3 separate regions of the Homo sapiens genome follow, and regions 2 and 3 are each linked to region 1. The links are contacts of gene promoters, found by promoter capture Hi-C in blood cells and fetal thymus (Javierre and others, 2016). All regions are on one chromosome and are shown on one strand. Each heading gives the region's core, a stretch centred on a gene start or on the middle of the fragment in contact. The rest is flanking DNA. Distances are from core to core; before and after follow the strand shown.

The links. The method cuts DNA at HindIII sites, captures the fragments that hold promoters and counts their contacts. A CHiCAGO score of 5 or more calls a contact.
Region 2: the fragment with the promoter of EIF3K here is called in contact with the fragment with the promoter of EID2 in region 1 in 6 of 17 cell types (fetal thymus, naive B cells, total B cells and 3 more); the score reaches 16.1 in fetal thymus.
Region 3: the fragment with the promoter of ZNF780A here is called in contact with the fragment with the promoter of EID2 in region 1 in 2 of 17 cell types (erythroblasts and fetal thymus); the score reaches 5.8 in erythroblasts.

The regions. Positions count from the first base shown.
Region 1 is chr19:39,538,265-39,543,054 of GRCh38, reverse strand. EID2 (EP300 interacting inhibitor of differentiation 2) reads left to right here and starts at 2,894. Exons shown (of 1, transcript NM_153232.4): 1 at 2,894-4,348. The coding sequence starts at 2,976. The coding sequence ends at 3,686. RefSeq lists an enhancer at 2,639-3,138 and a silencer at 3,110-3,189. The HindIII fragment of the contact is 1,343 bases long and covers 2,481-3,823 here.
Region 2 is chr19:38,617,938-38,622,727 of GRCh38, reverse strand. EIF3K (eukaryotic translation initiation factor 3 subunit K) reads right to left here and starts at 3,540. Exons shown (of 8, transcript NM_013234.4): 1 at 3,401-3,540; 2 at 2,293-2,391. The coding sequence starts at 3,459. It overlaps MAP4K1 (mitogen-activated protein kinase kinase kinase kinase 1), which reads left to right and starts at 4,775. Exons shown (of 31, transcript NM_001042600.3): 1 at 4,775-4,790. RefSeq lists enhancers at 1-508, 4,202-4,251. The HindIII fragment of the contact is 6,969 bases long and covers 1-3,772 here.
Region 3 is chr19:40,088,997-40,093,786 of GRCh38, reverse strand. It overlaps ZNF780A (zinc finger protein 780A), which reads left to right and starts at 2,844. Exons shown (of 6, transcript NM_001142578.2): 1 at 2,844-2,881; 2 at 3,552-3,621. RefSeq lists a silencer at 2,693-3,022 and an enhancer at 2,570-3,111. The HindIII fragment of the contact is 842 bases long and covers 2,448-3,289 here.

The DNA.
Region 1 (4,790 bases), core at 1,645-4,144:
TACTCCAGCCTGGATGACAGAGCCAGACTCTCTCAAAATATATATATTAATTGGATTCAAATTCTCTCTCTCTCTCTCTCTCTCACACACACACACACACACACACACACACACACACACCTCTGCTGTAAAGATTTTAAGCAATATGGAGCCCCTGATCCCAGCTGCCTTAATGGTTTAGTCTACAACATGGTTACAATCATCCTCAAGTCATCCCGAAATAGTGGCAGTGAATTACAAAGATGCTGCAGCCACCGCAGGCACAGTCTTGGGAGCAACAGCAAACCTGGACTACCTCTCAAATTTTTGTTTGTATCCCCTCACATTATCACCAAGTTTTTCTGCCTTCCTCTATTTGTAGCTTCTTATTTTAGTTCACTTCATTTTCCTAGAACCATTTTTATATCACTTCCGGATCTAATAAACCATCATTTTACTTAGAGCAATTTCTATTCTTAGAAAATCAGAGGGCCTTTCAGCTTCTGCTGTAAGGTGACTCTTAGTCCAGAGAACAAGATTATATCCGCTTCTGTAGGATTACAGCAAATTACTATGATTTCTACTTCTTCCTGTGATAATATATGTTGTCACCTAAGTCTGGAACTTCCTTTGTTAAATATTTGTGACTCTCCAGGCAGCCTGAGGGTGAGAACAATAGATCTGTCTCCAGCCTAGCCTGGGAGCTGCCTTAAAGGAGCCGCACACTTAGTGATTGCAGAGATGCTGGTGGGAAGCAGCAAGTAGACTAGCTGTTGTGTTTTATTAATTTGGTGCTTGGACCAGGAAAATTAAAATGCAGTCTTGTGCTCTGTGGATGAGACCTTACTGCCTCAGAATAGCTACTTCTGATAGGGCAGAGAACGATAAGTCACTTAAGTCATTTGTTGATGGTCATGAATCATGGCATCATGACGGGGACCACCACCAGCAAAATCAAATCAAATTATTTTGTTTGTTCACATTAATCAGAACAAAGGGAAATTAATTGGAGAGTCAGTATATAAGATGCATGTTTTAATATTACAAGATCCATAAAAGAATGGTAATAAGCCGGGCACAGTGGTTCACGCCTGTAATATCAGCACTTTGGGAGGCCAAAGCCTGGCGGATCATGAGGTCAGGAGTTCGAGACCAGCCTGGCCAATATAATAAAACCCTGTCTCTACTAAAAATACAAAAATTAGCCGGGCATGGTGGCGCGCACCTGTAATCCCAGCTACTCAGGAGGCTGAGGCAGGAGAATCACTGGAACTGGGAGGCAGAGGTTGCAGTGACCCAAGATCACACCACTGTACTTCAGCTTGGGCAACAGAGCGAGACTTCATAAAAAAAATGGTAATGAATATAATAACTATCAAGAAAATAAAGTATTTATAAACCATAATGAAAATGTAGGCTGGAGGCCGAGTGCTCTGGCTCACCCTATAATCCCAGCACTTTGGGAGGCTGAGACAGGCGGGTCGTTTGAGCCCAGGACTTTGAGACCAGCCTGGGCAACATAAGGAGACCCTGTCTCTACAAAAAAATTAAAAATTAACTGGGTGTGGTGGTGTACACCTGTAGTCCCAGGTACTCAGGAGACTGAAGTGGGAGGATTATTTGAGCTCGGAAGGTTGAGGCCACGTTGAGCTGTGATTGTGCCACTGCACTCCAGTCTGGGTAACAGAATGAGATGAAAGAAAGAAGGAATGAAGGAAGGAAGGAAGGAAGGGAGTGAGGGAGGGAGGGAGGAAGAGAAAATGTGAATGGATGAATCTCATAAAAATAATGCACAAAAAAACAGATACAAGTGTGTATGTGAGAAAACATTTTAAATGGTCCATTTCTGAGGCATGATAAATCTAAGTACTGGCAGCCAGCCTGCAAATATAACAAACTGCAGGGCTCATCCACCTAGAAGGTCACAATAAGGGAACAGAATGTAGAGGCGGGGTCAGCCCATAAAAGGGAAGAAAGTGGCCGGCGCAGTGGCTCACGCCTGTAATCCCAGCACTTTGGGAGGCCGAGGCAGGCGGATCACGAGGTCAAGAGATCGAGACCATCCTGGCCAACATGGTGAAACCTCGTCTCTACTAAAAATACAAAAATTACGCAGGTGAGTGTGTTTCTCACATAGATAAAGTTCAGAATACAAACCAAACTAAACTACAGCATTAGGAATGCACCCTTAGGTGGTAAAATGAAAAGAAAAACAAGAAAGTGATTACCATAAGTATCAGCATAGTTGTTACTTCTGCGTAGAAAGGAAAGGATAGTGATAAGAAGAAGAGGAAGGGTTCTGGGATGCTGGAAATATTCCACTTCTTGGACTGTGTGGTAGTTAAACGGATGTTCACTTTGTGATAAATCATTCAGCTGTATATTTATGTTTTGTTTACTTTTCTGCATGTTATATTGCACAAATAAGATTCGAAAAACAAATGTCCAAGGTAGTCAATGCAATGTTAAAGATAACACGAAAAGACTGTAATTACAAAGCTTTGGTAGCTAGGACGATCCGTATGGATGAAGACAGGCAAAGGAATGAATGAAAAACAATTTAAAAATCCAGAAAAGACCATGAATCTAAAATATCTTGATATATAATAGAGGTGGCACATAATCACTGGAGAACAAAGAGAAACACCCTAGGACAGAACCTTGAGAACGCCTACAAGAAGCGATCTTGTAAGCGTTCCTCATAAACATCAAACTGGTTGAAATGTCCCCCGCCCTTCGTCGTTGGGATGTTTCAGATGCGTTGGCGCTTCCCGGCCTCGAGGGGGCATCTGGAGAACGGCGGGCGCCGGGAAAGTACGCATGCGCACTGCTCCCAGGGTTTGCGGTAAGAATCTATGCTCTCGCGCCCGGTTACGCACACTGCATTTACAGCGCGCATAGCGCCCACGCACGCGCACTGGGGTGTCCGCCGGGCATCGCTCTGTCCAGTTATTCCAGTTTCTCTGGGAGCAGCCGAGTTGACCCCACGGTCTGAGATGTCCAAGCTGCCCGCAGACAGCAGTGTCCCGCAGACAGGCGCGGCGAATGGTGACAGAGACGTCCCGCAGGCGGAGGTAGGCCGCGGGAGGCGGGAGCCGGCCCCGGCACAGCCTGAGGAGGCCGGGGAAGGCGCGATGGCGGCGGCCAGGGGAGGCCCGGTGCCGGCGGCCAGGGAAGGTCGGATGGCGGCGGCCAGGGCAGCCCCGGCGGCGGCAGCCAGGGGAGCCCCGGTGGCAGCGGCGGCGTTGGCCAGGGCAGCCGCGGCGGGCAGGGAAAGCCCGGCGGCGGCGGCGGCCAGGGAAGCCCGGATGGCGGAGGTCGCCCGCTTGCTGGGGGAGCCAGTGGACGAAGAGGGTCCCGAGGGCAGGCCCAGGTCCAGACACGGGAACGGAGGCCTGGCTGCGTTGCCCTATCTCCGTCTCCGCCACCCACTTAGCGTTTTAGGCATCAATTACCAGCAGTTTCTCCGCCACTATCTGGAAAATTACCCGATTGCTCCCGGCAGAATACAAGAGCTTGAAGAACGCCGCAGGCGATTCGTGGAAGCCTGCAGAGCAAGGGAAGCAGCGTTTGATGCCGAATATCAGCGAAATCCTCACAGGGTGGACCTCGATATTTTAACCTTTACGATAGCTCTGACTGCCTCTGAAGTTATCAACCCTCTGATAGAAGAACTTGGTTGCGATAAGTTTATCAATAGAGAATAGTTATGTGGTGACACTACTTCAAGAGAACCTCTGCATTCCAGTCATACCAATCCTGCAACTTGATTTTCAGAAGTCAAGAGTATATCGCGATAAGACAGTGCACAGGTGGAGGGGAAAAAAAGGGGGAGGGGGAAGCTTATCTTGAAAAAGCATCACAGAAGTAGAAAAAAATGTCGAAAGCATTATAACTGTAACGTTCTTTGAGTTTGTGATTGATCCACATTTTTCCCCCTGCATTATGGAAAATGTCTCTCAGCATTGCTTTATTACAAAGTAAAGGATGGTTTTATAAAATTGAGACTGATGAAACATCAATACTAGAGCCCATGAGGATGAAAGAAATTATCAAATAGTGCTGAACAGAATAAGATGTTAACGCTGAGTTATTAGGACTGGAAGGCTATGAAAAGAACTTGAAATTGTCGGAATATGTGCTCTCTTCATGTCATATTCAATAGAAGTTTCTAGTTTAAGATTGATTTTGTGTTTTCTTAGGCATTTCAAGTGACAAGCAAAGTAAATGTATATATTATGTGATAAATCATGTTTTCAAGAACGTCAAATTTCTGGACTTTTTTCTTTCAATTTTTAATTTTTAAAGTTTTTTTGGTATTAAAAAATCTATTCACAAGCCAAAAAATATATAAAATATACAGCGAAAAGCCTTCCATTCTTGTTTTCCTCCATCCAGTACCAACGATGACCTCTAATAGCCACAGTTTCCTTTCCGTCCTTCTAGTTTCCTTACGTGTACACAGGCACATATAAATCTGGGTTTACTTGTTTTATTTCTTCACAGAAGTCGGCATATTATATTTACTGGTTTATACATTGCTTTCTCATTAAGAACATATGTTGACCCTTCCAAACCACTGTATTTCCTCATTATTTTTTAAAGTGGCATTTTATTCCATTCTGAGGTTATGTCCAAATTTACTTAACCAGGGATATATTGACGGACATTTAGGTTGTTTCCCATCTCTTTCTTTGGGCAGAATAAAAAATTGCTAGAGTAGTTCATCTTGTACAATTGCTAGAGTAGTTCATCTTGTATATCATGTGGCATGTGCACAAATATAGTATTGCTTCAATTCAAAATTCACT
Region 2 (4,790 bases), core at 2,291-4,790, 920 kb after region 1:
TTGCAGAGGTGAAATAAACTCGTCTCCCATAGCGTTCCCAGGCTTATTAGGAAGAGGAAATTCCCGCCTAATAAATTTTGGTCAGACCGGTTGATCTCAAAACCCTGTCTCCTGATAAGATGTTATCAATGACAGTGGTGCCCAAAACTTCATTAGCAATTTTAATTTCGCTTTGATCCTGTGGTCCTGTGATCTCGCCCTGCCTCCACTTGCCTTGTGATATTCTATTACCCTGTTAAGTACTTGATGTCTGTCGCCCACACCTATTCGCACACTCCCTCCCCTTTTGAAAATCCCTAATAAAAACTTGCTGGTTTTTGTGGCTTGTGAGGCATCACGGATCCTACCAATGTGTGATGTCTCCCCCGGACGCCCAGCTTTAAAATTTCTCTCTTTTGTACTCTGTCCTTCTATTTCTCAAGCCAGCCAATGCTTAGGAATATAGAAAAGAACCTACGTGATTATCGGGGCAGGCCCCCCGATACGTACAGCTACTTAGGAGGCCGAGGCAGGAGGATTACATGAACCTGGGAGGCAAAGGATGCACTGAGTTGAGATCATGAGATCACGCCAAGGCACTCTAGCCTGGGCAAGAAGGTGAGACCCTGTCTCAAAAAAAAAAAAAAAAGGAAAGAAAGAAAGCACCCAAGTAAAATTAGCTGGGCATGGTGGTGCATGCCTGTAGTCCCAGCTATTCAGGAGGCTGAGGCGGGAGAATCACTTGAGTCCAGAAGGCTAAGGATGCAGTGAGCCATGACTGTGCCACTGTACTCCAGCCTGGGCAACAGAAGATCCTGTCTCCAAAAAAAAAAAAAAAAAAAAAAGGGCACGAAGAACCCACAATGTCCATCAAGAGCCAGAAGAGATCATTAGGACAGCCACACAAGTGACACAGTGGAGAGCTATACATCCATGACAACAAACTGCAGCCATATCAAAAACAAAACAAAAAAACAAAAAACACTGGATGGATCTCACAAACCCAGTGCTGAGTAGCAAATGGCAAATGCAGAAGAGTTTGTGCTGTATGCACTCCATCTGTATCAAGTTCAAAGCAGGGAAACCTGAGCTGAGCTGAGCCAGATGTATGCATGCATAGTAAACCATCACATAAAGCCAGGCCATGAGAGCATGGGGGAGCAGGGGAATTGGTTGGCATAGAGCATAGGGGGCAAAGAGCCTGTGGTGCTAGCAATAACTTTGCAACATAAATGGTGATTATGTAGGCTTTCATTTATAATGATTTGTTAAACTACATGTTTGCTTAATGTATTAGCCTGTACATGTGTTCTGTAATTAACCTTTATTTATTTTTGAGACAGGGTCTCACTCTGTCGCCCAAGCTGGAGTGCAGTGGTATGATCTTGGCTCACTGCAACCTCTGCCTCCCAGGCTCAAAAAATTCTCCTGCCTCAGCCTCCCAAGGAGCTGGGACTACAGCCATGCGCCACTGGGCCCAGCTAATTTTTGTAGAGACAGGGTTGTGCCATGTCACCCAAATTGGTAATTCTTTTTTTTTTTTTTTTTTTTAAAAAGAGGGGTCTCACTCTGTCCCCCAGGCTGGAGTGCAGTGGCACTATCATGGCTCACTGCACCTTAATCTTCCAGGCTTAAGCGATCCTTCCACCTCAGCCTCTCAAGTAGCTGGAACTACAGCCACACACCGCTACATTAATTTTTAAATTTTTTCGTAGGGTTGGGTCTCGCTATGTTGCCATGGATGGTCTCGAACTCTTTGGCTCAAGTGAGTCTCTCGCCTCAGCCTCCCAAAGTGCTGGGATTACAGGCATGAGCCCCTGCGGCCACCCTAATTGATTTTTTATTATTATTTTTGAGACGGAGTTTCGGTCTTGTTGCCCAGGCTGGAGTGCAATGGCGCGATCTTGGTTCACCACAATCTCCGCCTCCTGGGTTCAAGCAATTCTCCTGCCTCAGCCTCCCGAGTAGCTGGGATTACAGGCATGTGGCACCACGCCTGGCTAATTTGGTATTTTTTAGTAAAGATGGGGTTTCTCCGTGTTGGCCAGGCTGGTCTCAAACTCCCTACCTCAGGTGATCCGCCTGCCTCATCCTCCCAAAGTGCTGGGATAACAGGCGTGAGTCACCGCGCCCGGCAATTGATTTTTCAAAAACCATCCCTCCTCCTGTCCCAACTTCCTTGGCTTCCTAGTCTTGCACACCAAGAGATGCTGCATTGTTCAGGATACTACCAGCCACCCCCTTGCCCTGTACTGGGAGTGGCACCCTGCTAGTTGCTGCAATGGGAGTGTAGACAGAGAGCTAGACACTTACAGCTTCAGGACAGCCAGGTTGGCTTCCAGATCATAGGCATTTTCCTTGGCCTGCGTCTCTACATAGCGCTCCAGGGTGGCCAGGTTCTCAGGATTGTACCTAAAGGAGAATCAAGATAGGTGAGCACAGAGGAGACAGAAGCTGAGGCCAGCCACCTTATGGAGCAAGGGGCCACTGTAACCTGCTCCTCCCGCCCTTCCCCTCTAAATCTGGCACTGGCCACTTGCTCTATCCAGGTAGTGAATTATGTCCAGTATAATCTCTAGTAAAACTTATTCTTATCCCAGACCTCTCGCCTAAGCTCTAAACTCCACTGGAGCCCTGGCTCTTCCCTAGGATGCCTCCTCAACCTCTGAGCCAGTCAGTCACTGCAGCTTGTACACCTGGCCTCCTGAATGTCTCTGCTACTCACCCCTTCCTCCCCTGTTCAGGCCTCCACCCTGATCCAGCCCCATCCTCTCCTGCCTACCTCGCTGCCTACTTCCTCCATGTCCACCTGAACACTCTGGCCTTTGCTTCCCCCATTTCAGTTCTAATCTCTCCCGGCTATCGCTGTCTGCTGTCAGGTTTGTCTCCCTTATGGAAAGGGAACTCAGACCGTGAAGGCATGATCTGCCGCTGTCTGATTCGCCTGTGGTTCCCAGCATTGCCTAGCACTGACAGTTTATTTCAGTAAACGTGTGGAGAATGAATGACTTATAGAGCAGAGAAGGGAGAGATTAAGAGGCACTCAAAGGAGGCGGAGCAGAGAAGGAAACCTTAAGGCAATTTACGAAGAGACTGAGTGGTACCAAGATTCTCTCGCTTCTAGGCCTTTGCAGTGCTTTTGTTTCTTTCTTTTAGAGACGGGGTTTGGCTGTTGCCCAGGCTGGTCTCTAACTCCTGGGCTCAGGCGACCCACCTACCTCGGCCTCCCAAAGTGCTAGGATCACAGGCGTGAGCCACTACCCCCAGCTCAGTGCCGTTTCTTTAAGCATCTCCTCCTCCAGGAGGATAGAGAAACCCCACCCCGCGGCAAGCCCAGGACCCTGAACACCCCTTGCTGTCTCCGGAAAACCCTCTCCTCCGCCCCGCTTGGCCAGAGCGCTTCCTCCAACCGGGCTCAGACCTGTCGATACCCTTGAGCAACTTGCCCACGTTGGCTCTCATCTGCTCAAACATCGCCATGACTTCTGTCGCCTTCCACAACCAGGGCTGGAGGCTAACACTGACCCGGCACGGCGTCCTCAAGGACGGGAACAGGAAGAGGTGGTGGAAACGGAAACGACGTCGTTGTTGTCGCTCCAGCTCCTTGGGTGCGGTAAAGGGAAAGGCTCTAGCAGCAGCCGCCACGCTTTCCGGCTGCCACGTGACTTCTTCCTCGCAGGCGCAATTGGCGCGTGCGCATTCGCGCCACTCAAGCTGGACAGACAGCGTGAGAAAAATCTTACTGGATCCCAGTGCGCAGGCGCCTCTCGTGGCGAGGGGGCGGGGCTAAGCTTTTCCCGGGCCTCACAGACCCAGTTCCAGTGCCGGTAGCGCGGGAGCGTGCGCGCGCGAACTCACCGGGAAGCACCCGGAGCTCTGGCGGCGTGCGCGCGCGTTGTATTGCGCGCGGCCATGAGGCCACGGAGCTCTGCGGGAATGCACGCAGCAGCCTTACGTTTAGGCCATGGCCAAGTTCCGAGGGAGGTGTTCTGAGGTCCCTCTTGCCACAGGCCTGGGCGCCTGGTGCAGGATCCTGAGCTCTCCAGTTTCAAGTCTCAGCCCTTGGTCCCCAGCTCCAGGAGGAGGGTCCCACAAAGCTACTGTGCTCTGCCGGGCAGGGGCTGGGGTGAGGGCTCCTGGACTTCGCCGGATCGCGCCCCGTCTCCATTAGGTTCCGGTCTTGGAGCTGAGGGCGAGCGTCCCATTTGTACTGCCATGAATTATATATTATGTATAGGTTTTGTACACTGCAGGCCTACAAAATGCAGTTATGTGCCATGCATGTGGAGGTATATGTCCTGGGTACATCCACGTGTGTACTGTGCACACAGGTATCCAGGCAGATGCACGTCTACACGCCTGCGCAGTGCAGAGGAGGTAACCCAAGTGCATGTATGTGACAGGTGAACAGGCATGTACACTGCATAGCCATCCCTTTGCAGACCTGCCGCCTTCGGGTTGTGGCCAAACCTTCAAGCACCCAGCAGAGGTTTAGACACTACCTAGGAGACGGGGGCGGGGGTTCTAAGGCACCCCCCTCCAACCCAGTTACGATTAAGATCATTTGCATCACATTTACATCCAGCCCTGGGCCTTGGAGGTTGAGGGTGGTCCCTTGGGTCCCAAGACAAGCTGCCCCTCAGAGGCTCTCAGAGCCCAGGGGACGGGGGGGTGGAGCCCGTTGCACAGTCGTGCAGTGCAGCTGGGGCAGGAAGCGAGAGTGAGGAGGGGGGAGGCCACAGCCCGCGGAGGCAAGGCGGGTGCAGGGCTTCTGGGGACGGAGGGAGGTGCCAGAAGTTGAGCCCTGAGGC
Region 3 (4,790 bases), core at 1,595-4,094, 550 kb before region 1:
TCCTACAAATTAAGAAAGAAACTGAATGAATTAAGTCATGAAATATCAGATGGCATACAGGATTTAATTTTGAAATTCTTCAATTTTACTGAGGAATTTCTTCAGCTATGGGAATAGTCTTTTGATGATGCTCCAATTTTTAACTGGATCAATTTGCAATTTGTGTCAGAATGGAGCGCAGTTGAGAAGCCTTATGTTACTGCAGCATCTAAATTTGGCTTAACATTCAAAGGAATCATAAATAGAACCAATATGTTTGCCTTGTAAAGATAATTATCAAAGAAATGTACCCTTCTTAGGGTACAAAAAAGAGATGGCAAAAAAAGAGATGTACCTTGAAGGCAAGATACATTAACTACAAGAATATGAACTGCAATCTAATTTTTCCATATTCAATATTCACAATACTTGTGAGGATATCTTCCATTTCATTGGATATATTCTGAGACTTCTGGTTACCTTAGTATATACAGAGTATATATCTCAGTTTAAAAAGTATGGTGTTCAGAGAAGAGTCATTTGAAGGTAGCTATAATTTTGAGTTTATTAAACATAAAGTCCAACATTGAAGATTGCATAAAATTTTATCAAAATTTAAAAATAATAGACCACATTGAAAGAAAATACTTAAAAAGAATGGTGATATTGGTTAGGAAATCGATTAAAGTATCAGAATATACTTAAATATAATTATTCTCCGCTTTATTCTAATGTTTAGTCAACATAAATAGCTTAAAAATTTTTTTCCTTACTACAAAATTGTTATTTTGCTTTAACGTATATATGTTATTGTTTCACCCTTTAGGATATAACAGAATATTATAATTAATACAGGAATTTTTCAAACATTACATAATTTCAATTACCTTAGTATTCATACCTTTTCGAATTTGTACTACTTTGGACAATATATTATATATTCAGCTATTATTGAGTTCTAATTTAATTCCATTTTTGTCAAAGAATATGCTTTGTATGACTCGAATCCTCTTACATTTATTGAGACTTGTTTTATGGCCCAGAATATGGCCTATACTGGTAAGTATCCCCTGTCCACATAGATGAATTTTACTGTCATTGAGGAGAGTGTTCTCAAATATAAATGAGATCAAGTAAGTTGATATGTAGCTCAAATCTGCTATACCCTGTTGCTTTTCTGTGTTTGTTCTATCAATTACCAAGAGAGATATATTGAAATATCTGACTATAATTGTGGATCTGTCTCCTTTTCGATCTAATAGATTTTTCTTCCCATACTTAGAAGCTTTGCTTTTAGGAGCAAAATTTATGTTTGTTTTTTTCTACTCGATGAGCTATCTCCTTTATCATTATTATGCCCTTCTTTATCTCTGGTAATAGTCTATGTCCGGAGTCTACTTTGTTTTTAATAAAGCCACTCCAGCTTTCTTTTGACTAGTGTTAGGATGGTGTATATTTTTCCATCCTTTTACTCTTAACCTTTTAGTGCTTTTCATTTAACATATTACCTGTAGGTAGCACCCATTTGGGTCTGACTTTTTGTTTATTTATTTATTTAATTATCTTTTTTTATTATACTTTAAGTTCTAGGGTACATGTGCACAAAGTGCAGGTTTGTTACATATGTATACATGTGCCATGTTGGTGTGCTGCACCCATTAACTCGTCATTTACATTAGGTATATCTTCTAATGCTATCCCTTCCCCCTCCCCCGACCCCACTATAGGCCCCGGTGTGTGATGTTCTCCACCCTGTGTCCAAGTGTTCTCATTGTTCAATTCTCACCTATGACTGAGAACATTTGGTGTTTGGTTTTCTGTCCTTGCGATAGTTTGCTCAGAATGATGGTTTCCAGCTTCATCCATGTCCCTACAAACGACATGAACTCATCCTTTTTATGGCTGCATAGTATTCCATGGTGTATATGTGCCACATTTTCTTAATCCAGTCTATCATTGATGCACATTTGGGTCTGACTTTTTAAAAAATCCAATCTGACAATCTTTTTAAATTAAGGTGTTTAGACCATTTACATTTAATGTGATTATTGATATGGTTGAGTTAATCATCTTATTTGTTTTCTGTCACAATTCTGGAATGAAAAGACGTTTTGCTCTTTATTATTACATGTTTCCTCCTTATGTAGCATAGGAAACTAGAAAAATGATTTTGAAAGTTAAATATTGTTAGACTACAACAGTGAAATCAGGCTCTTCCTAGGAAAAGCAAGCCCTTTTTTGCATTTGTTTATACTATTTTAACAAAGTGTTAATTATTCATCCTTCAAGATAAGGCAAGTAATTATCTGTGTATTTTTATCCGTTTCCATGTCGTCCTGAATCACGTTTTTCTCTCCAGATAACAGGAACATTGTCTCGAAGAATCCAGGACATTTGATTCTGAAATCTCCAATGTGAACCACACTTCCTCTCCTAGTATATAACCAACCAATTCTTTAGTTCAAGCTTTTCAAATTTATCCTAAGTCCCCTTCAAATAGCACAGAGAAGTGGAAGCCTATCGCTGGGGTCTGAGACAAAGGAGTTAAAGCACCTACATGTTGACATAATTTTACTTTAAATTCTTCTTTCTTCTTTAAAAGTTCTGCTCATTTGCATTCTCCATGGAGAGAAAAAGTAAATTATACTGACGCTCCGAGAGGGAAACGCTCTTCTCACATGGGGATCCTTGCTCATGGCAACAACCTGTGCACCCCGCGGGCTGGAACTCCCACGAATCCACTAGGCTCGGCTCCCTTAGGGGTCAGCCCCCATAGTATGCTGGGATCAACCTGAACGGATCACAGCTCAAGGCTTCTGAGGCTTTTTCTGTTCGGGACTGTATTTCCCAGCGGCCACCGCGCCAGTCCACTTCCGGTCTCCGGGGTCGACGACATAGCGGGGTAAGGTCTTCACGTCTGAGGAAGAGATCTGTGGCTGCGGGAGATCTCTGCGGATTGGGGCTCCAGCCTGACTGACCCGACAGTGCGGGTGGCCTAGGGGGAGGCGCTCAGAGTAGGAACCCGGGGGTGCAGACGGGATCTGCCGGATCCCCAGGCGTGTGTGTGCGCGGGTATCAGAGGAGGGGGATTGTGAGATCATGAGTGACGGAGGGGACTGTGAGTGTGTGCGTGAGGTTCTATGCACAGGCCCGGGAGGGCGTGTGGACGCAGCGCACTTTGCTGAGTGACACTGTGCCGGTGCCCCTAGGCTCCTGCTGCTTCCTCCCTCTTTCCGCTTCACAGCTGCGGGGACTGCAGCAGAGGAATGGCCCCAGTAGGGAGGTCAGATATTGAGCCGAGAATGAAGCTTTACACAAGAAAGCGCAGAAGTGCCCCCGAGTGTTCCCCAGGGGGGCAGCTACATGTTGAGAACCACAGCGTCCTCAGAGCTCTGTCCCCAGAAACCAGCTCCAAACTGGTTGTACTGGTTGAATCGATTCCTCTTCCTTTTACTTCCTTCCTATTTCGTGTGAAGTGAGGGAAATTGTGGCTATGGAGGGAGGGTGTTTTCAAACTTAGTCTGCGCTCCAAGAAATGCCTGGAGTCTCACGCTTGCCGTATCCTTCTCCAGTCGTATTTTTATCCAAAAGAAGGACCTGGAGGAGGATGAGAGCGTTACTGCTGCACACCTAAAGTCAAGGGTGAGTTTGTGCTTTGTATTTGTTCAAGACATGCGTTTTTGATTTTAGAATATTGAGATTTCCCCTTAAATTTTCAGTGAAACTAGGGGGATATGCAAATTGATTCGTGCCCCCTCCTTCACCTTTCCACTTAATAGTCACAAAACAATTTGGCAAATCGTTCACACCTTCCTGTGCGCTCTCTTTTTCGAAGCTGGTATAGAAATACACCTCCAGTAGTTAATATTAAAGCTCCATTTTAGACCCATATTTGGGAAGGAGGAGATTAGTGTTTAGGTGGAATCACACACTAGACATCAGTTGGTCTTTACAGACCTCCTTTTCAAAACAGGGAAGAATGGAGATGGTTGGATGATCTCCATTGCCTGTGAGGCATTCGGTAGTGGAAAAGTGACCGCACAGAAATTGGTATCAACAAGAGCCAGGATTTTTCCAGGGAGTCCATGAGATGATATTTGTAATACTTGCCAGATCTCTCTGAGGTTTGGCAGCTCCAGTTGTGTTTTAGGCGTGTGTGTGTGAGTGTGTGTGTGTGTGTGTGTGTGTGTACTGTGAGAGGCAGTACACTGTTGTGGTTAAGAATAGGGGAGTGGATCCAGAGTATCTGGGTTGGAATATTGGTTCTGTCATTAGAATGAATTAATATCGTAAAGCCCCTTAGAGCAGTGCTAGGCATATAATAATGTTTAATATGTTTTAACTGTTGTTTTTTGTGTAGTCATTTTAAGTCATTCCCCTTGACTCTCTACAGAACAGGAGCATTGGGAATATGTGATTCATTGCGACTGCTGGTTGTATATTAAGAAAATGAGTGAGGGGCTCAAATGATCTAGGACAGAAATTCTTTCTTTTTAAATCGACAGATATAATTGTATGTATTTATCATGTGCAACATGAAGTTTTATGGTATGTATACATTGTGGAATGACTAAATCTAGCTAATTAACAATGCATTACCTCACATAGTTATCATTTTTGTGGTGAGAACACTTAATATCCACCCTCCTAGCATTTTTCAAGACTACAGAATATTGTTATTAATTGGAGATACCCTGTTGTGTAATAGATCTCCTGAACTTATTTCTCTTATCTTCCTGAAATTTTGTATCCTTTGACCAACATTTCCCCAGTCAACACTGCCCTCCTTCCTCCCTCACCCACATTACCCC